Regions from separate parts of the Homo sapiens genome. Here all the other regions are linked to region 3. The links are contacts of gene promoters, found by promoter capture Hi-C in blood cells and fetal thymus (Javierre and others, 2016). All regions are on one chromosome and are shown on one strand. Each heading gives the region's core, a stretch centred on a gene start or on the middle of the fragment in contact. The rest is flanking DNA. Distances are from core to core; before and after follow the strand shown. Region 1 has its middle 110 kb from the start of CHD1. Region 2 holds the start of CHD1 (chromodomain helicase DNA binding protein 1). Region 3 holds the start of ARRDC3 (arrestin domain containing 3). Region 4 overlaps LOC107986437 (a long non-coding RNA gene). Region 5 overlaps XRCC4 (X-ray repair cross complementing 4). Region 6 holds the start of RGMB-AS1 (RGMB antisense RNA 1). Region 7 holds the start of RPS23 (ribosomal protein S23).

The links. The method cuts DNA at HindIII sites, captures the fragments that hold promoters and counts their contacts. A CHiCAGO score of 5 or more calls a contact.
Region 1: a contact is called between a fragment that was not itself captured here and the fragment with the promoter of ARRDC3 in region 3, in 1 of 17 cell types (non-activated CD4 T cells). The highest score is 16.8, in non-activated CD4 T cells.
Region 2: the fragment with the promoter of CHD1 here is called in contact with the fragment with the promoter of ARRDC3 in region 3 in 10 of 17 cell types (fetal thymus, naive CD8 T cells, total B cells and 7 more); the score reaches 29.9 in fetal thymus.
Region 4: a fragment that was not itself captured here is called in contact with the fragment with the promoter of ARRDC3 in region 3 in 1 of 17 cell types (activated CD4 T cells); the score reaches 5.3 in activated CD4 T cells.
Region 5: a contact is called between a fragment that was not itself captured here and the fragment with the promoter of ARRDC3 in region 3, in 1 of 17 cell types (total B cells). The highest score is 7.5, in total B cells.
Region 6: the fragment with the promoter of RGMB-AS1 here is called in contact with the fragment with the promoter of ARRDC3 in region 3 in 3 of 17 cell types (non-activated CD4 T cells, activated CD4 T cells and naive CD8 T cells); the score reaches 13.4 in non-activated CD4 T cells.
Region 7: the fragment with the promoter of RPS23 here is called in contact with the fragment with the promoter of ARRDC3 in region 3 in 1 of 17 cell types (total B cells); the score reaches 5.7 in total B cells.

Annotation. Positions count from the first base shown.
Region 1 is chr5:99,032,677-99,036,434 of GRCh38, reverse strand. No RefSeq gene overlaps it. Among named protein-coding and RNA genes, the nearest start is that of CHD1, 110 kb to the right of the region's middle. RefSeq lists an enhancer at 2,952-3,011. The HindIII fragment of the contact is 912 bases long and covers 1,855-2,766 here.
Region 2 is chr5:98,926,757-98,930,422 of GRCh38, reverse strand. It overlaps CHD1 (chromodomain helicase DNA binding protein 1), which reads left to right and starts at 1,416. Exons shown (of 36, transcript NM_001270.4): 1 at 1,416-1,884. It overlaps CHD1-DT (CHD1 divergent transcript), which reads right to left and starts at 1,861. Exons shown (of 4, transcript NR_151718.1): 1 at 1,781-1,861. It overlaps LOC100289230 (a long non-coding RNA gene), which reads right to left and starts at 1,289. Exons shown (of 1, transcript NR_036530.1): 1 at 1-1,289. RefSeq lists enhancers at 683-1,012, 501-1,399 and silencers at 1,173-1,382, 1,643-2,272. The HindIII fragment of the contact is 7,543 bases long and covers 1-3,666 here.
Region 3 is chr5:91,381,606-91,385,737 of GRCh38, reverse strand. ARRDC3 (arrestin domain containing 3) reads left to right here and starts at 2,421. Exons shown (of 8, transcript NM_020801.4): 1 at 2,421-2,925. The coding sequence starts at 2,646. The region is part of intron 1 of ARRDC3-AS1 (ARRDC3 antisense RNA 1); the gene reads right to left. RefSeq lists enhancers at 1,655-1,954, 1,834-2,351 and a silencer at 2,205-2,514. The HindIII fragment of the contact is 1,076 bases long and covers 1,607-2,682 here.
Region 4 is chr5:100,905,035-100,908,747 of GRCh38, reverse strand. LOC107986437 (a long non-coding RNA gene) reads right to left here. Exons shown (of 2, transcript XR_001742825.3): 1 at 3,079-3,713. Among named protein-coding and RNA genes, the nearest start is that of ST8SIA4, 3.6 kb to the right of the region's middle. The HindIII fragment of the contact is 1,569 bases long and covers 1,491-3,059 here.
Region 5 is chr5:83,080,198-83,083,850 of GRCh38, reverse strand. The region is part of intron 1 of XRCC4 (X-ray repair cross complementing 4); the gene reads right to left. Among named protein-coding and RNA genes, the nearest start is that of XRCC4, 4.5 kb to the right of the region's middle. The HindIII fragment of the contact is 2,083 bases long and covers 756-2,838 here.
Region 6 is chr5:98,770,582-98,774,333 of GRCh38, reverse strand. RGMB-AS1 (RGMB antisense RNA 1) reads left to right here and starts at 1,250. Exons shown (of 2, transcript NR_033932.1): 1 at 1,250-1,712; 2 at 3,150-3,752. RGMB (repulsive guidance molecule BMP co-receptor b) reads right to left here and starts at 671. Exons shown (of 3, transcript NM_001366508.1): 1 at 128-671. The coding sequence starts at 263. RefSeq lists enhancers at 1-309, 1,045-1,094, 3,473-3,752 and a silencer at 195-824. The HindIII fragment of the contact is 10,132 bases long and covers 1-3,387 here.
Region 7 is chr5:82,276,728-82,280,296 of GRCh38, reverse strand. It overlaps RPS23 (ribosomal protein S23), which reads left to right and starts at 1,943. Exons shown (of 4, transcript NM_001025.5): 1 at 1,943-1,977; 2 at 2,445-2,604. The coding sequence starts at 1,974. It also overlaps the pseudogene ATP6AP1L. RefSeq lists an enhancer at 1,623-1,952. The HindIII fragment of the contact is 8,285 bases long and covers 1,442-3,569 here.

The DNA.
Region 1 (3,758 bases), core at 1,061-3,560, 7.7 Mb before region 3:
ATGTGGGTGAGGGTGTGGAGAAAAGGGAATGCTTATACACTGTTGATGAGAGTGTAAATAAGTACAACCTCTCTGGAAAATAGCATGGAAATTTCTCAAAGAACTAAAAGTTGAATTACCATTTGATCCAGCAATCCCACTACCGGGTATCTACCCAAAGAAAAAGAAATCTTTATCTTGAAAAGATATCTGTACTCATGTTTATTGCAGCATGGTTCACAGTAACAAAGACTTAGAATCAACCTAAGTATCTGTCAATGGATGAGTAGAGAAACTGTGGTATATGTACATACAATGAATGACTAGTCAACCATAAAAAAGAATGAAATCATCTTTTTCAGTAGCATGGATAGAACTGGAGGCCATTATATTAAGTGAAATAACTCAGAAACAGAAAGTCAAATACTACATGTTCTCACTTACAAATGGTAGCAATGTAACATGTACACATGGACATAGAGTGTGGAGTAAGAGACACTGGAGACTCAGAAGGATGGGAAGGTGGGAGGGGAGTGAGGGATGAAAAGTGGCTTAATAGGTGCGATGTACATTATTCAGAAGATGGTCACACTAAAAGCCCCAGACTTCACCATTATCCAAAATATCCATGTAACAAAACTGCACTTGTGCCCTTAAATTTATACAAATAAAAAAAGTTTTAGATGTACATACTTCTGATAGAAAGTAGATACAAAATCACCCATTATTTCATAATCAAAGAGTAATAAAATTACAATGTATGTCTTCTCAATATGTTTTTATATATGCATTTTTAACTTAATTTGTTTTAAAATTTTTACCAAAAAAGTCATATTATATAAATTTTAGCCTATTTTTCCCTTAGTAGTACATTATAATATTTTCACATATCAAAAAATATTATTCTATAATATGATTTTAAAGGAATCATAGTAATAATGGTGTTTTTAAGTAATTGAACAATATTCATCTTATGAGTAACTCCTTAGAGATAAAGCAACAGAAAGAATCCATAACAGCAAAAAGTGTAGTGAGCTTTTTATTTGTTTTTACATATCAAAGTAATTTTTGCCAAATGCCTACTGTTTGTCTTTTATGTACTGGGAAAACAAAGATAAGTTTTTAGAGCAGTTATAAGATAGGTAAGTTAGTCAAATATTATGTGATGGGTACTAAGACAGAGATAGTCCTACGCGGTACAGGAACACAGAGAAGAGGCCTCTAAGTAAGAATGAGAGTCACCTGTAAAGTGACACTAACTAAACTATTGAAGGACAAGGGGATTGGGAATTGCAGAACAAACAGCATAAGTAAAAGGACTGCCTAGAAACAGTCAATCATTAATTCACAAACTGGCTTGATCATAAAAATCAGTAGAGACTGCCAGGCACAGTGGCTCACGCCTGTAATCCTTGCACTTTGGGAGGCCGAGGCGGGTGGATCACCTGAGGTCAGGAGTTTGATACCAGCCTGGCCAACATGATGAAACTCTGTCTCTACTAAAAATACAAAAAATTAGCCGGGCGTGGTGGCGGGCACTTGTAATCCCAGCTACTCAGGAGGCTGAGACAGGAGAATCACTTGAACCCAGGAGGTGGAGGTTGCAGTGAGCTGAGATCACGCCCCTGCACTCCAGCCTGGGCAACAAGAGCAAAACTCTGTCTCAAAAAAAAAAAAAAAAATCAGTAGAGACATAAGCCCCACTCCTGGAGATTCCAATTTAATATGTTTAGGGTCAGGCCAAGAATCTGCATGTTTAATATGTCCCCAGAAATTCTTACATTCAGTCAAGGTTAAAAAACAATTCTAGTCCCTCCAACTGGAAACCTGCTTGTTTTACAATATAGCAGTAAGGAAGTAGCCATCCCTGAAGCTTGGAAAGTGGCCAAAGACAGAATGTGTGGGTTAAGCCTTGAAGTTTATCCTGAAAGATAAAGGACTGAATCTGAGTTTGCAGAGCAGATTAGCATTTTAGAAGGATCACTCTGTAAGAAACGGAGTATGATGTGTAAGGAAACCTTTTGAGGAGGCTAATGTAGCAATTTAGGTGAGAAGTCATTAAGACCTTAATTTAAAAAGTGGTTATGAGTTTAGGAAAGAGGAGAACAAGAGATACCAAGGAATTAAAAGCCACAGGGATTAGGGATTGATTGAGTATAAGTGAGAGTGACCTAGGAAGACTCCCAGGGAAGTGGATTGGGTGACTGGATAAGAGATATGCCATTTATGAAAATGTGGCATTCAAGTAAAGCGCAGGTTTGAAATACATAAGTTCACTTTTAGATATACTGAATTTTATTGGAAATTCAATCGTAGGTTCCATCGCAAACTCAAAACGAAGATTTGGCAGGAGGAAGTTTGTAATATAACAGTGATCGAAGTTGAACCCATGAGGAAGATAACACTTACTGTTTAAGCAGAAAAAAAGGGAACCTACAATGGAGACTAAAAAGAATTATCTTTTTTCTTTTTAAGGAAAGAATAATGCCACAGAAAACAAAGGAGAAGGACTCCAGAAGGAGAACTGCTACCGATAAATCAAACAAAATAAGGACAAAGCAAAGTTCCCTGAACTGTGCCTTATGGAATTCAATGGTGCAGGTATCAGGAGCATCTCCTCTGCACATGTTTCTGGTGGGCTTGGCCAATCAAATGTTTCCTTCCTAGGAGCTAAATCTTAAGTGGTGACACAAGGAGGAAAGGTAGTTGAACCTTAGTAAACATACATGATTATGCATGTCCACGGTTTCATTTCAGTGGTCCTGTACTTTCTGCCCTCAGGAAGCTTGACTGTTTAGTATTTTCTTCTGTTCTGCATTATACCAGTATATTTCCAATGAATATCATTTTTTCCATAAGTTGTTCTCAATTTGTTTCTTTGGCTTATAATTAGAGACCCAAAACTGCCAAGGTAATTTTACTTTTGCTTTCATTTTCAATAAGACAAACCACTGTTCTGTTTATTTTCTGAAGTAAAACAGGAAAGAGGGCGATGATTGATATAATAAAGTCATTGAGTACACAGAAGAGGATGGAATCCAATCTACAGGTTGAGAAATGAGCCTCGAGTTAGATGGGCACCTTTTCCAACAGGAAGGAGAAGTAAAAATGCCAATAAATAAGCGAATAAGTAAGAGGGAGAGGAAGGTGCCGTTTTCACTTTCTGCCCTTGCCTTTTCACAATGAAAAGGACAGAATCATCATTTGCTGAGTGTAAGAAGAGTTGGTGGTTTTGACAGTAAGGGAAGTAAATGTTTGGAATACCCACTGTCAGTTGATCAGAAGCACCTTCACCATAACTGAGGACTCAGCCTTGGTCAGAAAGCAACAACATACAGTGACATCAATTGGTATGGCTGTGTGATTTTTCTCCAAGAACTCTCAGCTGCTCAGTTCCAGAGTCAGAGAAACAGGATGGCTGGATTAAGAGTTGAAAGTAATATTGAAAGCATAATTTAAGTAGTGGACACCAGTGTGTGGAGCTGAACAGGGAAAATGGGAAGACAGAAGGAGACTAATTGATTAGGAGAAAATGGAGGGCTCAAAGCATATGGGGTCATGAGGTCAAAGGGCAGGCATAGTTCATATAAGGACCAGAAAGTTACCAAAAACAAATGGTGAGGAAAAGCAGATGTCTTGTCTAAACATGAAGCCTGTATCTGAATCTCCCTATGGATGGAGGGTTCACGTTTATCTACCTTCAGACTGCTCTACTCGGCTATCAGTCAGTCTTTCTTAGGATTCCTAATTTGTTTTTCTGACTTTCGCCCACAAGCTGG
Region 2 (3,666 bases), core at 167-2,666, 7.5 Mb before region 3:
TGGAGTTATGTTTTGAGATTTTTTTGAAGGATTTGAACCAAACTGTTTAAACAGCTGGTAGCCTAAAACTGGAATATTTCCCACAAGGGAAAAATAATTATTTGGGGAATGTATGTTACCACAAACTCATCTGACTTGGAAAGTGCGCCTTTACACCAAATCAAATAACTGAACAATGGGATTAGAAACTTTTAATTATTATTAACCTCGGCCACCGGGCGCCGTGGCTCACGCCTGTAATTCCAGCACTTTGGAAGGCAGTGGCAGGTGGATCGCTCGAGCTCAGGAGTTCAACACCAACCTAGCAACATGACAAAACCCCGCCTCTACAAACATAAATAAAAAACAAAAATCATTAACCTTGAGTGAGTCAAGTTCATCTGCAGACTGAAAAAAATAAAGTGTAACAGAATTTTGATTTAAAAAACGCTTTCAAAAAAGCATTTCAAAATGCTCTAAGTATGTTTCAAAAATACACTTAAAAATATGTTTCCAACACACTGAAGGGATTTAACTAAGATCCACAATTACAGTTACGATACAAACTGTAAGCTAAAAGGCAGCAACTTAAGCTGAGACAGTTACTAACATCCCTCGAGCAGCGTTTTTTGTTGCGATTCGGCGCCGCACCCGTCACCCCGCCCTCCGGGGAGGAACCTAGAAAGGAAGGGTGGTACATTTCTAAACCAGGCCACCCACACATGAATCAAGCGGCATCACAGGCTGTCAACAACCGGGTCTCTATTTTCTCTCCTCCTCCGGCGCCCCGCCCGTGCGGGACATCAGCTCCCAGGATGCGTCAATCGCAGATCGCCCAAGCGTAAGAGGTGGCGAGAGGCCACCACGGTTGCCCAACAGTTGCGTTCCCAGGCTGCCTGGTGTGACGCAGCAGCCCCCGCCCGGACCCTGAGGCCTGGCGCTCCGACTGAGCCGAGGCCTGTGCTACCCGACACTCCTTGCGACCCGGCCCCTTAGGCTTATTCAGCGCGGCCCTTCCCGGCTTCCCGAGTCCCATCGCAGTCTCTCCCCACCCCCGTTCCTCCCCGGTTCCTTGTCAGTGTCCGCCGCGATGTCCTTGCGCAACCATCCCAAGTGACATTAGCGCCCATACCCGCACGGAGCGAGCCTGAAGCTCCCACTTCCCGGAATTCAACGCCGGGCCGCTAAGGGCGGGCACCCAAGCGAGGATCAGCGGACTAAGGCCGCGACCAGAGTCCAGCGGTCTCCGCGCAGTCAGAGTCCGACAGCCTCTGCGCATCCGCCGTGCGCACTCCCATTCGTGCGCGTGCGCGCACTCGCCCCCCCCGCCCCGCCCCAGCACCAATCGCTTTTTTCCTACGCCCACGACCCTTCAACGTAGTCCCTCCCGCCTCCCGCGCGCGAGCAGAAAGGCTTCGGCGTGCGCGCGCCCGCCCGCCTCGCGCTCTGTCGGGAAGGGGAGTGAGCAGAGGCGCTTACGTCGCGCGGGAGGCGGAGGCGACGGCGACCTCGGTGGCGGCGGCGGCTACGACGGAGACGGTTGCGCTCGCTTGCTTTCTCGGCGTCATGGCGGCTGCCGGGGGCAGATAAGCGGAGGGAGCGGGAGCGCGCGCGCGACGGCGGCGGCGGCGGCGGCGACGACTGGTTACTTATAGCTCTTGCTGCCCTCGCCCTTGGTGCTTCAATAATGAATTGTTAGCTCCACTCCGCAGGGGATCGCGCGTTGGTGCTGCGGACCGGGGCTTCCCCTTCCCCTCCGCGTCTGTCCCCTTCCCCCTCCCCCGCACGGACTCTTGCTTACCCCGAGACGCCGGAGCCCTAGGACTGGGCGGCGGAGATCCCGGGCCTGGGCGCGGGGGAGGCCGTCCACCCGAGTCGGCTCCCTCCGCCCCGCCAAGCCCGCCGGTAAGAAAGGGGGCGGCGGGCGGGTCAGGATGTGGCGGAGAGGACAGGAACCGGCCGGGCGGAGGGCGGGCGCGGCGCGGTGCCCAGGCGGCGGCCCAGCGGCCGGGTGAAGGCCGGGTGGCTCTGTGAGTGCCGGTGGCGGTGTACGGGCCTGGCGCGCAGGGGGCGTGTGAGCGGCGAGTACAGGCCGGGGCCGCAGAACGCATCCTTGCGCCGGCCCGGCGGCCCTGCCCCGGCCTCTTCGGCTTGGTGCCGACCGGGCCGCGAGAGGAGACCCGCGAATGGCTAGCACTTAGCCGGTGCGTGGGTCCTGCCGCGACCCGGGCTCCCAGCACGTGGGGAGCGGCGGGAGGGGGAGGGGGCGGCGGCTCGGGCGAGCCTGGGAGGGCGCGGGGCGGGTCTGCGGGAAGTTTGAGGCGGGAAGAGGGACTCCTGGACCGGGATGGAGGCCCTGGGAGAGGGGGGCAGGTCCGCGAGGGAGGCTGATTGGAGCGCGCTGGATGGATGAGTGAGGATGGTTTCCAAACCTCTTTCGAGTGCCGCTTTAAAAACTTAGCAGGAGCAAAGCAACTGCTAAAAGACAGAGGATTGAAGAGGTTTAATAACTTAGGGTAGTCATTGTGGAGACGCTTGAGAGGACACAGCGCTGTGTGCGCTTGGAGCTTCAGAACTCAGGGTTGTGAAAAGGGTCTCAGAGGACTTATTCGGATAAGGGAGATGGAGGGGAAAGGAAGTTAAAATGTACAGAGAAAGCCATTTTGAGGGACGAAAGGAAGGTGAAAAGGAAAGAACGAAAAGGGGAGTGAACTTTTTAAAGGAAGAAACGGGAAAGGCAGTTTGTTAACATACTTAGATTTTTTAAGACTTAATTGTTCAGTAAGGCACTTTGACTAGGGTTGAGATTAATATTTAACATTAGGAATAAATGTTGAGTAGAACGGTTACTTTTTAGATAACCTGTTCTTGCAGAGTCTACTGGACAGTAGTCTAGAGAATTAACATCCTGATCCAGATGCAGACTTTGCTATCATTGAGTTGGTAACAATCTGTTTCCCTCCCTCTCTTGTGGAATGGAAATAATCGTAGGAGTGAATTCTCTTTGCTGAGGTCGGAGGACAGCTCTGCTCTCAGTTGGCTGTCTCGGTACTTTCTGGCTGGGGAAGGATCTGACGTCTCCTTCCCCCGCTTCTTCCTCTCCCTCCCCTGCCAGAGATCTCCTTTGTTTATTCGTGGATGGCTTGTAGGTGATTCTTCAGTGTTGTACTGAAATCTTTAAAGGTGGAAATGGTGTGTCTTGGTTCATTATTCTTGCCCCAAATTTTTTACGTAAAAAATCAGATATAGTGTATATTCTATTACCTTTTCAATTTTTTTCACAAAATAAAAACCAAGTGCAAACTGGTTAAGTATTATTTAAATGTTATCATCCCACTATCCGTTTACCTGTTAAATAACACATTTATTTTGAGCTATGCATTTTTGTTGAGAGTATATGGTATCTTTTATTTGCCTGTTCCTCCCATGGGAGCGTTTTCAGAACTTTCTCACTCAAGTGTATGAAGTTCTTGGTGATAGGAGTGAGGGCTTGATTAAAGGTAACCTCCTCCCACCCCCCCCCCCACTTCATTTATTCGACCAAGTTATCTAATAAGACTCCGTTATCTACTCTTGGGATGTATGCATATGTTACATCGTATCACCTTGCTTTAGGAGTCTATAAAAACATTGTTAGTTGCAGTTAGTCTCTAAAAATCCTTTCACTCCACAAATATTTTAATTTTT
Region 3 (4,132 bases), core at 1,172-3,671:
CCGGAGGCTAAGGCAGGAGAATCGCCTGAACCCGGGAGGCAGAGGCCGCAGAGAGCCTAGATTGTGCCACTGCACTCCAGCCTGGGCAACAGAGTGAGACTCCATCTCAAAAAATAAAAATATAATGAAAATGGCAGCTGGTAAGAATTTCTTGGAAATTTGCCAGTTACCTAAGTATTTAAGAAGACACAGTAAAAAGAAAATTTTAAAAATAGCAAAATAAATAATAAAGACAACTATTCAAAAGATCCTGAAAGCTTCAAACACAAAGAATAATGTACTACACAGTGACAGGAATGAAACATTTAATATTTTAAAACAATTTTCCAAACTACAAATAAATTTCTTAGACTTCTTTTTTATTAAATGCAATTCTGGTGTATTTATATAGCTAATTCTTATTTTTTCTGAAATGAGTTATATTCTAATTAAATAAATTTTACTAAAAAAATCCGAATTCAGCTGTTCACTAACCCTTAATAATTTTTAACATAAATGTAGACACAAATGTGCAATGAATTTATGTATTCATTATGGACTACACTTTTAAATCCATTCCTTGCTCAGTGGTTTTCGAATGCTTATTAAATATCATTGACCTTATGCTGAGGAAAAGCTGTCATTCTAGGAAATTCACCACTTCTACCACTAGGTGGAGAAAAAACACAAGTAGTATCTGTAATCAAAGCTAGTACAAGGCCCCAGGTACTTTACCTAGAATTTCCACCAGGTGTCAACCAAGAGGTAGGGAAAAGATAAGACTGTTTTTCCCACTTAAATATGCAAATTTATAATTTTATGCATAGCGATCTAAACTCTGAAATAAATGGCCTGCTCATTAATTGTCTAGTTTGCATATTTATACTCTTTATATATTGCTGTTGAGTCCAAGATATTGCCTTGTCAACTAAAATCCAACCCCCAAAAGCTTAGTTTCTTTTGAAATAAAACAGCAAGACCAATAAGTTTAGTTTATTGTGACTCATAGGCTCAACCTATCCATATACACTACGCAAAAGAATCTAAAACGTTTAGACACGGACAGCCAAAAATCTTCCAAGGTATTTTTGGTCATACATATATATATAGAGAGAGCACCAGATTCATATTTTTTCTTTCTACATTTCTCTTGTAAGGCAGTTCTGTTGATTGCCAGTAATCTAGATGAGTTTATGCTGTTATGCTCTGAATCCCAGTGTGATGTGACGAAAGCACTGCTATTTTTTACCAAACATTCACAATAAAAAGAGAAATGTACCTATATTTAAGATGTATCATGAGAATTACTACGTTAAATGGTCCAAGGCTCTCGGCCGAAAATTAAAGCTTCACACAGTTAAATCCCTATTTATATACCAAATCATGCTTTTTAAAAACAATTTTATGCGCTTCACTAATTTCTAACAAAGATTTTCCGATTCTGTTGCAAACAATATGTCAGCTAAACCACTATGTCATATGCCTTTTATAAGGTAGTACTTTTTTAGGCCGAACTCTATTCTTATTCCTCTGGACACAGGAGTTGTAATCATGTCTTACTCTGCAAATCTAGCCGTAGGTGGTGTCTTAAAAGGACTTTTTCTTCCTTCGAGGAAGTGATCAAGCTTCCCCCAGCCCCCACCCGTGTCATCCTGGAAACAACTTGGTTGTTTTTCGGTGCTAATTAAGCAATGTAGGAGAAAGAAGTTGAGGAGACAGCAAAGCCTATTGATTACATTGTACTTGCTTCTCTACCTCGCTCTTCAAAGGATTAAGGTTCCTTTGACCTCGACTGAGTTCATTTCCAACCTGCCTACAAAGTACTGGTTTAAAAAAAAAAAATCCAAGCAAAGTATGCTCTTGTCTATGAACAATATTTCTTGTCCGGTTTTATTACGTTTTCTTTGGAAATTCGTTAGATTATGCTCAACAATCGGCCGCTTGCCCAACCGGTTTCTCCCTTCCCCCATCTCTCTTCACACATCACTTTTTCCTCCTCCCATCCAGGCAGTTGGTAAAACGCTGCAGTGCCGGTAACGCACGCTTCGGGCTGGTCGCTGCAGTTTATCCTAACTTGGCTTTGCAAACTCCCCACCCAGCCCTTGTACCCTCGCACCCCACTCTGCCATTATCTTTCTAGTAGAGTGCGCTCGGTAACGGGCTCCAGATAGCACGTCGAGGGTATACGGTAGCCTGCCTACCAATAGGAGCCCACAATGAAGAGAAGTCAGGTTCAGCCGGCCAGCAGCTCCAGTATCTCCTTCCCCTAGCTCTACACCTACTGTACCCGGGAGCGAGCGGGCAAGGGAGCGAGCGCGGCGCGGCGCGGCGCGGGAGGGGGCGCGCAGGGAGGGCGGACAGCAGCCGCGGCCTGCGCCTGCGCACTGGGGTTGTTTTTCACAAAGCTGCTCTTAAAGTGAGCTGGCAGCTTTTAGCCGCCCGTCTTTGTAAGGAGACCACTGAGACGAGCGGGAGCGCGGAGCAGCAGCCTCTGCTGCCCTGACTTTTTAAGAAATCTCAATGAACTATTTGTAGAGAATCACTGATCCGGCCTGCAAGCATTTTGCACGGCAAAAATATCGATCAGTGTTAAGTGAAGATCACATTTTATATGCGATCTTGACTTTTTTGTCTTACATTATATTTTTATAGATTTTGTTATAAACATGGTGCTGGGAAAGGTGAAGAGTTTGACAATAAGCTTTGACTGTCTTAATGACAGCAATGTCCCTGTGTATTCTAGTGGGGATACCGTCTCAGGAAGGGTAAATTTAGAAGTTACTGGGGAAATCAGAGTAAAATCTCTTAAAATTCATGCAAGAGGACATGCGAAAGTACGCTGGACTGAATCTAGAAACGCCGGCTCCAATACTGCCTATACACAGAATTACACTGAAGAAGTAGAGTATTTCAACCATAAAGACATCTTAATTGGGCACGAAAGAGGTAAGTTTTTGTTATTCATAAGTCATTGGACTCATTTTCTTTGGAAACGTACCTTTTCAGTTTTCTGAATTAACGTGATTCTACTCCTAGCATAACTAAGCAGTTTGAGAAAGGTTAGCAAAGTTGGAAGGTTTGGATTCTCCTTGACGTTCATCGTGTGTTAAGCCGTAATGCATGCAGGCATCTGCAAAGTGACTGCAAACTACACTTATTCAGCTACCTCTGTACCCGGCTCGGTCTGTGCCACACGCACTTGTAGTCCATTTGCACCTTACTTATAAATTCTGTTTGAATCCAATTCAGTCGTTTTACTAATATATTTTCAAATGAATTGGTAAAAGCTGCAGTCTTAGATTTTTGCCCTTTTACTTGCAACCTAAGATGTAAAAACTGAACTTCGATCAAGAAATGTAATAACATTTTTAAGAGACTTAATGGGTGTGTTTCATTTTTAATATTGGAATGCAAAAGACTTTAAATAATTGATGACTGTTCTTTCATAAAAGATTTCTGTGGCTTATTTTGACATATGGTATCAACACCCCACGTGTTTTTTCTCTATTCTTTACCATTCCTTTAAAAATTTACACCCAGCATTCCTTATTTTAAAGGAATGACTATCTGTCATTATGATAGGTATCGAGTCAGGTTTAGAAGCCATTTAGGATCAGTAATTTTCTTTTCCGAGCATCATGTCTAACTTTGGAACGTGCATTCAATGAAACCCATGCCAGTCAAATGGAATTGAAAAGTATAGGGCACACTGGATTTGATTTTTGGTTAGAAGAGAGAGATAAAGGGTTGTCAAAAGGAGAAGGAGTCCTGAGATTTCCAATCTATTGTTTAAATGGTTACATTGTGGAAATATAGGAGACTCTAGGCTTGTTTTTCTAAGTTTCCACCCTTTGTTAGAAGCGGTTCAATCCTGTTTCGGACCAGTTCTGGGGGGTGGTGAGGAGGGGCGCTTGTTCTGCTCTCAGCAGATTGGTTACACGCGTCAGGTGGTGGCGATGACTTAATTCCTAGCCCAAGAAGAATATAATGTTAAAACTGGTTATGTAATTTTTGTGCCTCTCCTTTTTAATGCAGTATTTAGTTCAGATGTTGGCGATTTTTCAGAAAAAAAATTAGAGACATATTTTACCTTATTTTTTATATTAAAAACGTACATCCTGGAGAAGTGCTGATGACTAAGGCAAGTGAGAAA
Region 4 (3,713 bases), core at 1,026-3,525, 9.5 Mb before region 3:
GGCTAGAAATATTCAAACTATCCAGATGACATTCCTTCCCAACGTGATACATAGATTCAGTGCAAGCTCAATCAAAATCCCAATAAGATTTTTTTGGATATCAAGAAACTCATTCAAAGCCATAAAAAATGATGAGTTCATGTCCTTTGTAGGGGCATGGATGAAGCTGGAAACCATCATTCTCAGCAAACTATCGCAAGGACAAAAAAACAAACACCGCATGTTCTCACTCACTCATAGGTGGGAATTGAGCAATGAGAACACATGGACACAGGAAGGGGAACATCACATACCGGGGCCTGTTGTGGGGTGGGGGGGAGGGGGGAGGGATAGCATTAGGAGATATACCTAATGTTAAATGAGGAGTTAATGGGTGCAGCACACCAACATGGCACATGTGTGCATATGTAACAAACCTGCACGTTGTGCACATGTACCCTAAAACTTAAAGTATAATAAATAAATAAATAAAAAAGAAAAAAGAAACTCATTCCAAAGATTACACAGAGAGGCAAAAGACCCAGAATAGCTAACACAATATTAAAGGAAAAGAATAAAGTTGGAAGACTGATGCTACCCTATTTCAGGACTTACTATAAAGCTTCAGCAGTCAAGAGAGTGTGGTATTGGTGAAAGAATAGACAAATAGATCAATGGAAGACAATAGAAAGCACAGGATAGCCCACCCAAATATATTTAACCTTTTGTTTCTTTGACAAAGAAGCAAAGTCAATACAATGGAGAGAAGACAGCTTTTTCAACAAATGGTGCTGAAACAATTAGACATTGACATGATAAAAAAATAATAATCCAGACACAAACTTTGCATGATTCACAAAACTTAACTCAAAATAGATTATAGACCTAAACAGAAAATGATAAAATGCCTAAAAGGTAACATATCTTAAAAATCTAGTTTATCTTAGGTTTAGATTTTAAATACAACATCAAAGGAATCATCAATAAAATAATTAATATGTTGGACTTCATTAAAATTAAAACCCTCTGTTCTGTGAAAGAAACTGTCAAGAGAATGAAAAGACAAGCCACAAACTGAGAGAAAATATTTTCAAAAAGAGATGTGATAAAGAACTGTTATCCACAATATAGAAAGAACTCTTAAAACTCAAGAGTAAGAAAATGAACCTGATTAAAAACCTGAGCAAAAGTTCTGAACAGACACCTTACCATAGAAGATAAACATGTGTAAATTGCTCAACATCATATAATATCAGGGAATTGCAAATTAAAACAACAGTAAGATACAACTACTACACATCTGATATAATGGTCAAAATCTAAACCAATACAACAGCAAATGTTGGCAAGGATATGAAACAACAAGGACTCTCATTCATTGCTGATGGGAATGCAAAATGGTACAGCCACCTTGGAAGTCACTTTGGCAGTGTCTTTCAAAACTAGACATATTCTTACCATATAATCCAACAATCTTATTTATTTCTACTTACCCAACTGGGTTGAAAGCTTTACATCTACACAGAAAACTGTACACAGATGTTTACAGCAGCCTTATTCATAATTGCCCAAACTTGAAAGCAATAAAGATGTCCTTCAGTAAGTGAGTGGATAAACTTTGATATATCCATATAATGAATTTTATTTAGTGCTAAAATAAAATGGACTTTCAAGCCATGAAAAAAAATTTGTTTTTCAAGCCATGAAAATAATGGAGCATATTATTAAGTTAAAGAATCCAATCAGAAAAAGCTACATACTCTATGATTCCAACTATATGACACTTGAAAAGGCAACACTGTGGAGACAGTAAAAACATTAGGGAAGTCAGAGCCTGGGGTGACCGGGAGTGAGAAAGAAGCATGAATAATCAGATTACAGAGGATGTTTAGGGCAGTGACACTAATTTGTATTATACTATAATGGTGAATATATGTTCAGTATATATTTGGCAAAACCCATAAAATGTGCAACACCAAGAATGAATCCTAATATGACCTATGTACTGTAGGTGATAATGATATGTACATGTAGTTTCATTGAATGTAAAAAAAGAAATGTACTGCTCTGATGAGGAATGTTGATAGGGAGACTGAGTATGGGGAGAAGGTAGAGTTATATGGGAACTCTCTATTTTCTGTTCAATTTTGCCATAAACCTAAATGTTTTCTAAAAAAAAAAAAGTCTATTAAAAATGTCATGGGTCATTAAAAACTCCACCATGAGACTGCAAGTATCTATTCATTTCTTGCCAGCTAGATTTGAGAGTACAGCCAGCAATGAAAACATGAATTTACATTAAGTCAAAGGATAAAGTATCATTTTAAAACCAGCTGCCATTACTCACATTATTTATTTATAGGCTATTGTATAATTGTAGAATTGTGCTGAATAAAGACAAATATATTCTCTTTATTGAAGAACTTACAATCCAAAGATCAAATGAAAATTTAGAAACAATCTTATTTGCTCAGGAGCATCAAACTAAGCATTCTAATAGAAGAAGTTAATTCCAAAAGACTTCTTTATAGTCTTTTGGTGCTCAGGAACATCAAACTAAGCATTCTAATAGAAGTTAATTCCAAAAGACTTTTTATCCAATATTTATAGTTCTTGCACCTATTTACATATTGAGAAAAAACCATGCTGTCCTCACTTTTGTCTAAGTATTGGCCTGTATGGCTTCTTTTTAATTGGCAAATTATAATGGCTATATATTTAACGAATCTAACAATATTAAACAAATGGCATTCAATTACACTCCAAACACTAAATTGCTTTAATTTGGGAAGAAGAATTCCTGGAGTCTCGCTGAACAGTTATCAGTCATTCAGAATTGCTCGCCTTAATATAAAAAGTTCTGTACTTAAAAAATTCAGAAACAGCAGCATTATACAATTGGAGAGTTCACTTATTTTTCTTCTGGACATTTAAATTTGTCTTATGTGTTCCTATAACTAGTTCTTGATTGCTTTCGTTTCGCTCTTTTTTTTTTTTTTTTTCTTTTCTTTTTTTGTTTGTTTGTTTGTTTTTTCCTGTTTGGGCTAGGTAAGTAGTTTCCCCTAATGTAATTTAAAGCTTAATATAGATTATACTCACTTTCCTCTTGAAGATTTTCTTGTGGCTTTCTCATTACAGAAGACTGTTCCACACTCTGGAGCCATAGAATATTATGAGTACACCGAAACTTTTGGACCAGCACTCTCCCTTACCACTTTCCCTTCTAACAGTACTGAGCCACTTCAAAGTTGCCCCAAAGCACCAGAGTTTTATTACTCTCTGGAGTTGCGCATACTCCTTTTTCCACCTGCAATGTTCTATCCTCCCTCTGCTTGGCTTACTTCCTTGTCAGCTTTGAAAACAGGAGTCTGTGTGTCCCCTTCACCCGGAAACTCATCTTCCGGGCTTCAAAAGGCTTAAACACCCCATCTGCTTCAACCCAGGAGCTTACTCAGATACCATATATATTTTAAATGATGTTTCTGATTCATGTTGCCATACTGTAAATTATTATTTTTAAAAGATGCCCCCTTTGAGTGAGTAGGATTTGTGTCTGACTAGATGCTAAGTTTTATTCATCTTTGTGTTCCCATCTCCGCACACATTGCCTGCCCCATAACCATTGCTTAAGAAATAATGAGTTTAATGAAACGATGCATATTACTCTATCCCTGACAGAGAGTGATGTTTTACCTATAATCTAAAATATAGTTGTCTACTGTTTAAAAATCAAA
Region 5 (3,653 bases), core at 548-3,047, 8.3 Mb after region 3:
ACAACTTAGGGGTAGAGGAAGAAAGATAAGGAAGGGCATTCCAAATAGAAGAGTCTGCATGAGTAAAAACTTGGAGGCAAGAAATAGCATGATACATGGAAGTGATAAATAATTCAGTGTTTCAGACTGCAAATCAAAAATTACAGGTTCATGGTCAAATGCGGTGGCTCATGCCTGTAATCCCAGCACCTTCATGCCTGTAATCCCAGCACTTTGGGAGGCTGAGGCGGGTGGATCACGAGGTCAGGAGTTCGAGACCAGTCTGGCCAACATGGTGAAACCCCGTCTGTACTAAAAATACAAAAAATTTGCTGGGCATGGTGGCATGCACCTGTAATCCCAGCTACTCAGGAGGCTGAGAAGAGAGAATTGCTGGAACCCAGGAGGCAGAGGTTGTAGTGAGTAGAGATTGTGCCACTGCACTCCAGCCTGGGAAACGGAGCAAGACTCCATCTCAAAAAAAAAAAAAAAAAAATTACAGATTCAAACACCCAATCAAGTCAGTCATTCATTCAAACAAAACCTACTGAGTACTTCTATGCCTCAGACAAATGCTTTAGAATGTGGCATAAGACAACAAAACAGATAAAAATGCCTGCCTTCATGGATTTTACATTTTAATAGGGGAACACAATTAAAAATACATGTAACAAATATGTAATACATATATAGAATAATGATAAGCGCTGAAGTAAAAAGAGGAGATAAAACAGGGTGGAGGAGATAGGGGTAGGGGCTATGGAAGTTGCAAAGCTTCAATTTAAATAGGGAGGTTGGGATATGCTTTACTGCAAAGGTGACATTTGAACAACATGTAAAAGCTATGAAGGAATAGCTGTATGGATCCAAAAGCATTCTAGAAAGAAGCAGCAGTCAGTGCAAAGGCCCTGTGGTAGAAGTAGGCCTAGTGTACTTAAGAAACAGGGTGGTAAGTATGGCTGGAACAAAGGGAGAGAGAATACAAAGACATGTAGTCAGAGAGGTAATGGGAGACCAGATCATGTAGAGCAGAGGTGTCCAATCTTTTGACTTCCTTAGGCCACACTGGAGGAAGAATTGTCTTGGGCCACACATAAAATACACTAACACTAATGATACCTAAAGGGCTCAAAAAAAAAAAAATCTCATAATGTTTTAAGAAAGTTTACAAATTTGTGGTGGGCCGCATTCAAAGCCATCATAGGCCACAGGCAGCCTGTGAGCTGTAAGTTGGACAAGACTGATGTAGACTATTGTAGGCCAACGTAAGGCTGTTAGCTTCTACTATGAATCAAATGATTCACGAAAGGTTTTTAAGCAAAAAAGTAATGTTTTATTCTTCTGTATATTATTTTGAAATAATTCTGAATTTACAGAAGGGTTACAAAGATAATAGAAAGTTCTCATATACCCCTCACCCAATTTCTTCTAATATTAACATCTTATACTACCACGGTGCATTTATCAAAACCAGGAAACCAACACTGATACATTTCTATCAACTAAACCATAGACTTTATTTGGATTTCACCAGTTTTTCCATTAATAACCTCTTTCTGTTTCAGGATCCAATCTAGCATAACATATTGCATTTAGAATCTTACATGTAAATACACAATTTTTTATTTATATTTTAAAAGTATCACTCTGGCTGACATATGAGAATAGACTGTAGGGAGGCAAGGACTGAAAAAAGCAGAGAGAACAGAACACAATTACTATAATCCAGGCAAGAAATGATAGTGGGTAATAACAAAAATCTGAGCAAGAGATGATCAGTATACTAATAGCAGAAATAGTAGAAAACTGTTGAATTCTAGATATATTTCATAGAAAAAGCCAACAGATTTGTTGGAATACAAGAGAAAGGAAGGAGTCAAGGATGACTCCAAAGATTTAACTGAGCAACTGGCTGTATAAAGTTGCCATCAATTCAGATGAGAAAGAATGGGAAAGGTTTGGGAGGAAAGGAGTTCGGTCTGGGACATCTGAGTTCAAGATATCTTTTAAATATACCAATGAAGATGCAGAGGTAGAAAAAGAGGAATTGGAACATGGAGCATAGAAAACTCTTTAGAGGATTTTTGTTGCAGAGAAGAGCAAACAAATGGGGTTGAAAATGGAGAAAGGTTAAGAGAAACATTTCTTAAGGTAAAAGAAATAAGACATACATTAAATAGAAGTGTCTTTTTTGGTGAAACTTCTTTTTTTAAAAAATGTTAATGTGTATATTTGAGGTTTACAAGTTGACATTATAGGATACACACAGATAGTAAAATGGTTATTTTAGTCAAGGAGATTAACACCTATCATCTATCTTATTTTTTGTGTGTGACAAGGGCAGCTGAAACTCTACTTATTTAACAAAAATCCCTAACAGAATAAAACTGTATTAACTTTGGTCCTCAAGTACATTTCAGTCTGAATTGAAAAGCCATGTGGGAAGGGAATAAAAACAAGGGGGGAGAAAAAAAGGACAAACACTGGAACATGAAAAACCTCTACCTGAGGTTAGGGAGGCTAGCTGAGGATAAGAGGAAAAAAGCAGAACAATTGTCTTTCAATATATGTGAATAACAGTGAATGAAAAAAGGTAGGTAATGTAAAAGGTAATGTAAATCAACCCTATCATTAACACTAGCAACAAAGTAAAAAGAGAAAATGGGGAGAAAGTGGTCTGGTGATACAAATGCAATACCAACTTAATACTAAAACCTTTTATAGCAGTCCTCTCCTTATCCAAGGGTGTATATCCCAAGGCCCCGTGAGGAGGCTGAATCCAACTGCCTTCAATCTGAGCATGCTTCTGTTCACATTTTCTAACCACAAATTTAATTCCTTTTTTATCTTAACTAAGCTTTTATAATGCACTATGGCTATAAGTTTGGCAGTTTGAGGTGTGACAGTAAAACTAGCATAAATTTCTTTTTGCTTATTCACAATTTTACAGATAGATTTGTTCTTACCATAGTTCTTAACAACATCAACATAGGATTTCTTTTCTTCCTTATTAAGTGGAGAACTTTCCTTTTTTTGCTTAAAAGAGGCACTTTACAGCTACTCTTTGGCATAACCAAATTGCCAGCGTCGTTACTCTTGTGCTTTGAAGCAATAATTAAGTAAAATAAGTATTCCTAGAACACACGCACTGTGATACCACCTCCATCAATCTGATAACCAAGCAACTAAAAGGCAGGAAGCTTATACAGCAGGGATACGCTAAACAAGGAGATGATTCATGGCCCCGGGCTGAATGGGATAGGATGGAATAAGATTTCATCACAACTCAGAAAGGCATGCTATTTAAAATGTATGCATTATTTCTGGAATTTTTTTTTTTTTTTTTGAGATGGAGTCTCGCTCTGTTGCCCACGCAGGAGTACAGTGGCACAATCTCGGCTCACTGCAGCCTCCACCTCCCGGGTTCAATTGATTCTCCTGCCTCAGCCTCCTGACTAGCTGGGACTACAGGCACATGCCACCACGCCTGGCTAATTTTTGTATATTAGTAGAGATGGGGTTTCACCATGTTGGCCAGGCTGGTCTCAAACTCCTGACCTCAAGTGATCTGCCCGCCTTGGTCTCCCAAAGTGCTGGAATTACAGGCATGAGCCACCGCACCCGGCTGGAATTTTCTACTTAATATTTTCAGACTGTGGTTGATCATGGGTAAC
Region 6 (3,752 bases), core at 1-2,500, 7.4 Mb before region 3:
CTCGGGAGGCCTTTCCCGTTGCGCCACGCCGCCCTTCCGCCCCGGCGAGCGCCTTCGAGACCTGGGGCTATTTGGGAACAAAGCCCTAGGCCCCGGGGCTGGCTCCCCTCGCGCGCTCCCGTCCTACCTGCGTGGAGCAGCCCGAGGCTGAACAGCAGCAGCAGCAGCAGCTCCAGCGGCGGGGGGCAGAGCCCGGGGCTGCGGCGCTGCTCAACCTCGGCGGCGGCAGCGGCGGCGCTGGAAGGTGCTGCTCTCAAGCCCATGCCCGTCCATGCAGGTCTCGTGGGCTCCGGCGAGGGCGGCGGCGCGGGCGCCGTGGCGGGTCTGGGCCCGTGGCTGCGGCATGGGCCGGGGGGCGCGCTTCGCTTCCTCTTCTTCCTTCTTCAGGCCCGTGTAGCAGATGGGGCGCCACCACCGCCGCAGCAAGCAGCGCGCAGCCGGCGCAGCCAGTCCGCGGCGGCAGCAGCGGGGCGCAGGGGCATCGTGGCGGCCGGAGGCGGCAGGCAGGGAAAGGGGCGGAAGAGAAGACACAAAGACCGTGAGCGACTGCTGAGACGAGTCCCGAGCGCGCCGGCACCCCGGCCCCAGCCAGCGTGGGCTCGGCGGGCGTGGACCTCCAAGAGGCTGGCCCAGCCCTAGCGACCACCCACCGGCGGCCCGGATATCTCTGCGCGGCAGCCCCCGCGGTCGATCAATCTCAGTCCCGCACTGCCGTCCCGCCCCGCCCTGTGCCCGCCAATCCACGACGCCATAATCCCCCGCCGTGTCCCTCCCTTCCTCCCCATTGGTTGTGACCGCACGTCAGCCCGACTCAGCCTGCCAATCGCAGGACCCAGAGGGCCCTCTCCCCCGCCCGCTCAGTGTAATTCGAGTTCCCTGTCCATCGACTCCAAGTCCTCTCTCCTGCGCCGCATGCTGCCTCGCGCTCCCTTTCCTTCCCCCTCTACCCCCTTCCGCGATTTACTGTTTCCTCGCGCCCAACAGAAATGGGCGACCGCAAGTCTTACTCTCGCCGGCGTTACAAAGGTACCGGCCTTTGACCTCTCCTTGAATTAATGTGATCCGATTCATCTTCCCTCCAAGTTTTTTTTTTAATTTAATTACCCCTCCCTGCCCTGGCCCTGCCAGCTTCAGCTCCACCTCCTTGGAGGAAGCAGGCGCTTTTACAGAGCGCCGCGCGGCAGGTCCCCTTTCAGCCAATCACATCTGCGGAACCGCGTTCCGAGTCGTTTGAGGGTGTCTGGTAAAGCAAGCTCGGGGCGGTGTTGGAAATCTGAATGTCACCCGCGGTCCGGAGCAGATAGGATGGGCTGGGAAGGTACCCGCGAACTGCCGCCGGAATTCGCTGGCAGCTGTGCGAGGCTCAGGTGTTCTAGTTTGACATTTCCCTTCCTGAAAGCGGCAAGGAGAGGTCTAAGAGTGGGCAAACTTCAACGTTCGGTTACAGTGTAATTAATGAGAGTGGTGGGTTTTTATGCAGTGTAATTATGCCACGATTTGTTGTTGCTCAGTGGCTTTTTCACAAATTTCTACAGATTATTTAAATTTTCCACAAATTTCTACGGATTAATTCAATGGCAGCTCACTTTCTCCTTTTATGATCGGATGGGTCCGAAAGTGAGGAAAAAGACAATTGTCTACAAAGAAAGAGGCTGCCAAGTGGAGACAGAAAAGCAGTTATGAGACTGATGATAGATTCCAATTTGTTATCGGTAGGTGTGAAGTGGTATCTAATCTCAAGAATGACCTCAAGGCTGAGAGACACTTGATACCGCCCTCGCCTTTGCCTTTCCCCAAACAGCACAGGGTTGCCATTTAAAATCCACTAACATCCAAATCGTAGTTGGCAACTGTACCCGCTATGTTACTCAGAATCTCTAATTAGGAATTTCTTATCAACCACGGACATGCTGATATTCCACACATGTTTAAATGAGCTAATCAATGGACTAGGATAATTGAGGGGCAAACCTTCAGTCTCACCAGCTCACTTATTAGACACATTTTGAATTGCCCAAACCACTAGGTCCCTAATGAAGGATGCCTATCTGTTTTTACTGTAACTTTTCATTACTTACTTGTTACATACTATGATGACTTAAGGGGTAAACACACCTTTCACTATCCACAATATAATCCAAGCCTGTGTATATCCATAATACGCTTAATAATAGCTTCACAGTTGCCTGGAGAAATGACTTTTGGGGAGGAAGTTATATGACATTTTTAGATAATGCTGCGGACTAAGTATTATTAGAGCAAAAATTTACTATCTTGCAATTACTTCATATAATTAGATACAGTTCATGACATACTAAGAAGCATCTTAAAAAAGTAATCAAACATAATACTGATTTTCAAAGTATTTGGCTAACAAAGACTACATTTTTTTCTCTTAACCCAAGATTTAATTCGACCCCTATAAAAGCAGCATCTCACTTTATTGATCATACTTCAAAGCATATACTCAATAGTTAAGGATCAATAATTTCTGTTTGGTTTGGGTCTTTCCACTCGTGACTTTCTATGATTTTTTACTCCCCTCCCCCTATATCCTGTTCCATAAGTACACGGGTGCTCTAGATTTTCCTATCAATAGAGGGCGTCCTCGAGTCATTGCAAATCCTGGTGTCGTTAAACGGAACTGTTCTTCAGAGGAAAAACTTCATCTCTATAAGGTGCTTTATTGCTCCTCTGTTGTAAAATTTGACAAGCTCGAGATTTATAAGCCTAACAATTCACTTTTTATTGCTGCATAAGTGTTCAGCCGCTAGAGGAAAATGCTAATTTTCACAAGTAAACCGCAAGGTGGTTCCTATTTTCAAGACATAGGTCAGTTGACACACTCGCGGGTAAATTCGTACTGTTCACAAGATCAGGAATTGGCTTGGAAAGCAAGAGCGTAGTGAATAGTCGCTTATACCGCAGCCACTCCTCAAGCCCGTGAGCTGCAAGTTACAAACGACTTTATATTGTACAAAGAAAAATCGGGGAGGGAGCTAGAACACAAACAAAAAAATCGGTGACTTATAAAAGTTTTATGTTTTAATCAGAAAAAAAATCATGAAGTGGCTGATGACTTGTGTAATTCACACATCCACCCTGTTTCTTGCCACTGGTACTCTTTCTCCCTTTCTCTTTGTTTTCAGAAAGGAAGGAGGAGACCTGAACAGTACATCCGGAGAATCCAGCAAAGCATACTACGGCATGAACGTGCAAGTGGACAGAATTAAAACACATGCCAGAAACACTAATGGATTCTAAACAAGATGCAGTTTCATTTCCTGAGCCTATACGTGATGTTTTTAACTGTTCTCCAGTTAATATGTCTCCATTTCCAGAAATCTAACAGGAGAATCTCTGACTGCTTAACAGATCACCTAAGCTTGCGATTTGTGCAATCCTTTCTAGAGTAAGGGCTCCCCGGCTGCTCCCCGGCCACTGTGTACCCAAAGCAGCGGCTGAAATAGCCCGGAGTCCAACAGCTCAGCGTCAAGCAGCTCGTGGTTTGTACTTACATCATTTTTTTTTTCAGAGCAAGAGTGAAAGTTTATTAAAAAGCGTTAGAACAGTAAGGAAAGGAAAGGAGAGAAAATAAGGAAAGTACAACTTGGAAGAGGGCCAAGCGGGCGACTTGAGAAATCAAGTGCCTGTACTTACATCATTCTTAACCCTTTCGCTCCTGGAGGGGGCTCAGCGGGATCAGGGGGCCCCTGAACTTCGGAACACGCAGGACCTGGGTGTGAGAGAAG
Region 7 (3,569 bases), core at 694-3,193, 9.1 Mb after region 3:
CCTACAGTCATCACCTAAGCTATCTCAACTAGAGCCACAGTTTTAATACTATTTATTCATTGATTACTCCTCAGCTTCTTATCATATATCCAACTGTCCACTTCACATCCCTGGATGTTTGACAGTTCAAACTTAACACATCCAAACCAGAACTCTTCATTTCCTCCTTTGAAATTTGCTCCTCTCCTCGTATTTCCCACTTTGGAACTCACCCAACTCACAACTCACAACTCTACAACTCACCCAAGTGCTGAGGTCAAAAATCATAGTGCTGTAATTAACTCCTCTCTCACATCCTACAGTCCTGAGCAAATTCTGTTCATTCTACCACCAAACAGTGTATCTGACCCAACCACTTTTTACTGTCTCCACTGAGGGTCCAAGCTATCACCATCTCTCATCTGAACTATTGCAATACCTTCCCAAGTGGCCTCCCAGATTCATGTCTTTTTCTCCTCTCAACAGCCAGAGTAACCCCATAAAAATATAAATCTTATTTTGCTACCTACTCCCAAGCTCAAAACTTTACAATGGCTTTAAATCACCAGAAGAGTAGAAAAAGGCTTTACCATGGCCTACAGGCTCCACATGTTCCTGTGTAACTCTCAGACCCCATCTAATGCCACACTACTCCTCAGTCACTATGCTCCCCTTCTTCACTGATCTTTCAGTTCTTAGAAAGCACTAGCCCATTCTACATCTGCACAGAGATGTCACCTTAAACTACCCTATCCAGAGTAGCCACCCCCATCCCCAAGTCACTATCACCCATCCAGCTATATTTTCTCTATAGCTCTACAGTATGTAAAAATCATCTATTTAATTATTTAATTTACATCTATCTAACTGGTCTGTCCTCTCACATTTAGAATATAAACTGTATCAGAGCAGAAACCTTCACCCTCTTAATTTAACCGCCATATTCCCGGTACCTACAACAGCGTCTGGCACATAGAAGGCATTTTTAAACATCCTTGCTGAGTGAACCAATATCCCAGAAACCTCTCACAGCTAGTTCATCTTACAGGAGAAACAGTATTAAAGAGTTAATTAAATGGCCAGGCGCGGTGGCTCACGCCTGTAATCCCAGCACATTGGGAGGCCGAGGCGGGCGGATCACTCGAGGTCAGGAGATCGACACCAGCCTGGCCAACATGGTGAAACCCCCTCTCTACTGAAAATACAAACATCAGCCAGGCGTGATGGTGGAAGCCTGTAATCCCAGCTACTCAGGAGGCTGAGGTGGGACAATCGCTTGAACCCGGGAGGCGGAGGTTGTAGTGAGCCAAGATCGCACCACTGCACAACAGCCTAGAAGACAGAGTGAGACCCTGTCTCAGAAAAAAATAAAAATAAAAATAAATAAATCTATAAGTAAATGACTCGCCAGTCAAAATAAACGGCAACTTTAGGGTTAAAGGCCCAATCTGGCTCCAAAGCTTGGGGTTTTAGTTACTACACTACATTGCTTCACTATATTTTACAATTTACTAGCTGCTTATAAGTATGAATTAAGGCTCAGAAGTCTAATTTTCCAGACTACTCGGAGGACTCTCGCCCCACTCCACTCCACAAAGATTCAGCTCAGCGACTCCTTCCTACTCTGACCTAGCCCCGCGTCCCGCTCTCAGTGGCTTGGGCAAGAGCGCCTGCGCGGTGAGCGGGTCCCATAAAACGCATTCTGGGATTGGTAGTCCATGTTCCTCCGGTCTCCAGCATTCAAAAGAAAAAGGGGGAAAAAAAACCATGCAAATTAGATATCTCTGAATTTCTTGCAAATTAAATAAGACGCAGATTCTGGCTCAGGAAAGTGATGCAAACGCGTCGTTTTCAAAGGAGAGACCCCAGCCTCGGGTCAGGCGCGGCGCAGACAGCGGCGCGGGGTCCTTGGCTGGGCGGGGCTTGCTCGCGGTGGCTTGTGGCTCCTTCCTGCGGTGCTTCTCTCTTTCGCTCAGGCCCGTGGCGCCGACAGGATGGGTGAGCTGTTGTGGCCGGTTTAAGGGCGCTGCAAGCGGGACTTGGGGTCTTGGGGACGGGCGGGCGGATGCGAATAGAGTAGGGCGGGGGATGCCATGGAGAGGCTCCATGGGGGAGGGCCGGGGAAGCGCCGCTCCAGGAGGCACGTGGTCCGGCGCGGAAGGGGCCCATGAGGCGTGGAGGCCGCCGAGGTCGGGGTACCGAGGGACGCAGGGAGGCCAGCGCTTCCTCCCGGGCATTCGAGCGGGGCCTCGTCCTTCGGGAGAACACATTCTCCGGAGCCCTCTTCGAACGTTTATTAGTCGGTTCAGGGCAACTTGAAGGCCAAATGTTTGGCCCACAGGCCAATAAATAGTACGAGAGCCAATCGGCTTAAGGGTTTATTCCAGGTGAGGCGAGTGTCTTAGAAGATGGGAAACACGTAGATGGCGTGTTTTTACGGAAGAACTAAAATATTTAATTTTTAGGCAAGTGTCGTGGACTTCGTACTGCTAGGAAGCTCCGTAGTCACCGACGAGACCAGAAGTGGCATGATAAACAGTATAAGAAAGCTCATTTGGGCACAGCCCTAAAGGCCAACCCTTTTGGAGGTGCTTCTCATGCAAAAGGAATCGTGCTGGAAAAAGTGTAAGTCCATTGCTCCCGTCAAGTTTTAGTTTATTATAGGAATTCGAGACATGAACTTACGAATTCTTGTTTTGAAAGTAATTGCAGGTTTTTGTGTAGTAGTATTCATTTGGGCATTGTGGGGTAAAATTGCAAAGCGTTTGTTCTATTTAAAAGTTGGTAAAATTAGTTTTTGGGAATTAGGTAGTTAAGGTTTTAATTTAACGTTGGCCTGGAAGGAATTGGAGAAGATACTAGCAATGATGAAGTAAAGGACACAAACACCTTTACTGTGGGAGTTGTTATAAGTAAATGGCACGTGTCAGCTATTGAACTTTATCGACTTGATAAAACTAAGGTGAAGAGAAGTGACTTGCATCAGAATTAATTGAGGTCATACACCTAAGATTGAGACATGAAACTGCCAGTATTTGACTGGTTTTGACTTTTTAAAATAATAATTTCATATAGTTCTATCATATTTGATGGTAGAGCCATTTTAACCCAGACTTTTTTTTTTTTTTTTTTTTTTTTTGAGACAGTCTAGCTCTGTCACCCAGGCTGGTGTGCAGTAGCGCAAGACTCCCTGCAACCTTAGCCTCCCAGGTTCAAGCATTTCTCCTGCCTCAGCCTCCCAGGTAGCTGGGATTACAGGCGCCCACTACCACACCAGCTAATATTTTGTATTTTCAGTAGTGATGGGGTTTCACCATGTTGACCAGGCTAGTCTCAAACTCCTGACCTCAGGTGATAATGCCTGCTTCGGCCTCCGAAAGTGCTGGAATTACAGGCGTGAGCCACTGTGTCCGGCCCAGACTTTCTAATTCTTACCTCAGATACCTTTTTTCTTTTTTCTTTTTTTTTTTTTGAGATAGGGTCCCTTGTCACACAGGCTGGCCATCTTGACGTTCTAGGCATAGATCCTCCCACGTCAGCCTCGCAAGTAGTTGGGACTACAGGCCCACGCTGCCACTCCAGTCTACTTT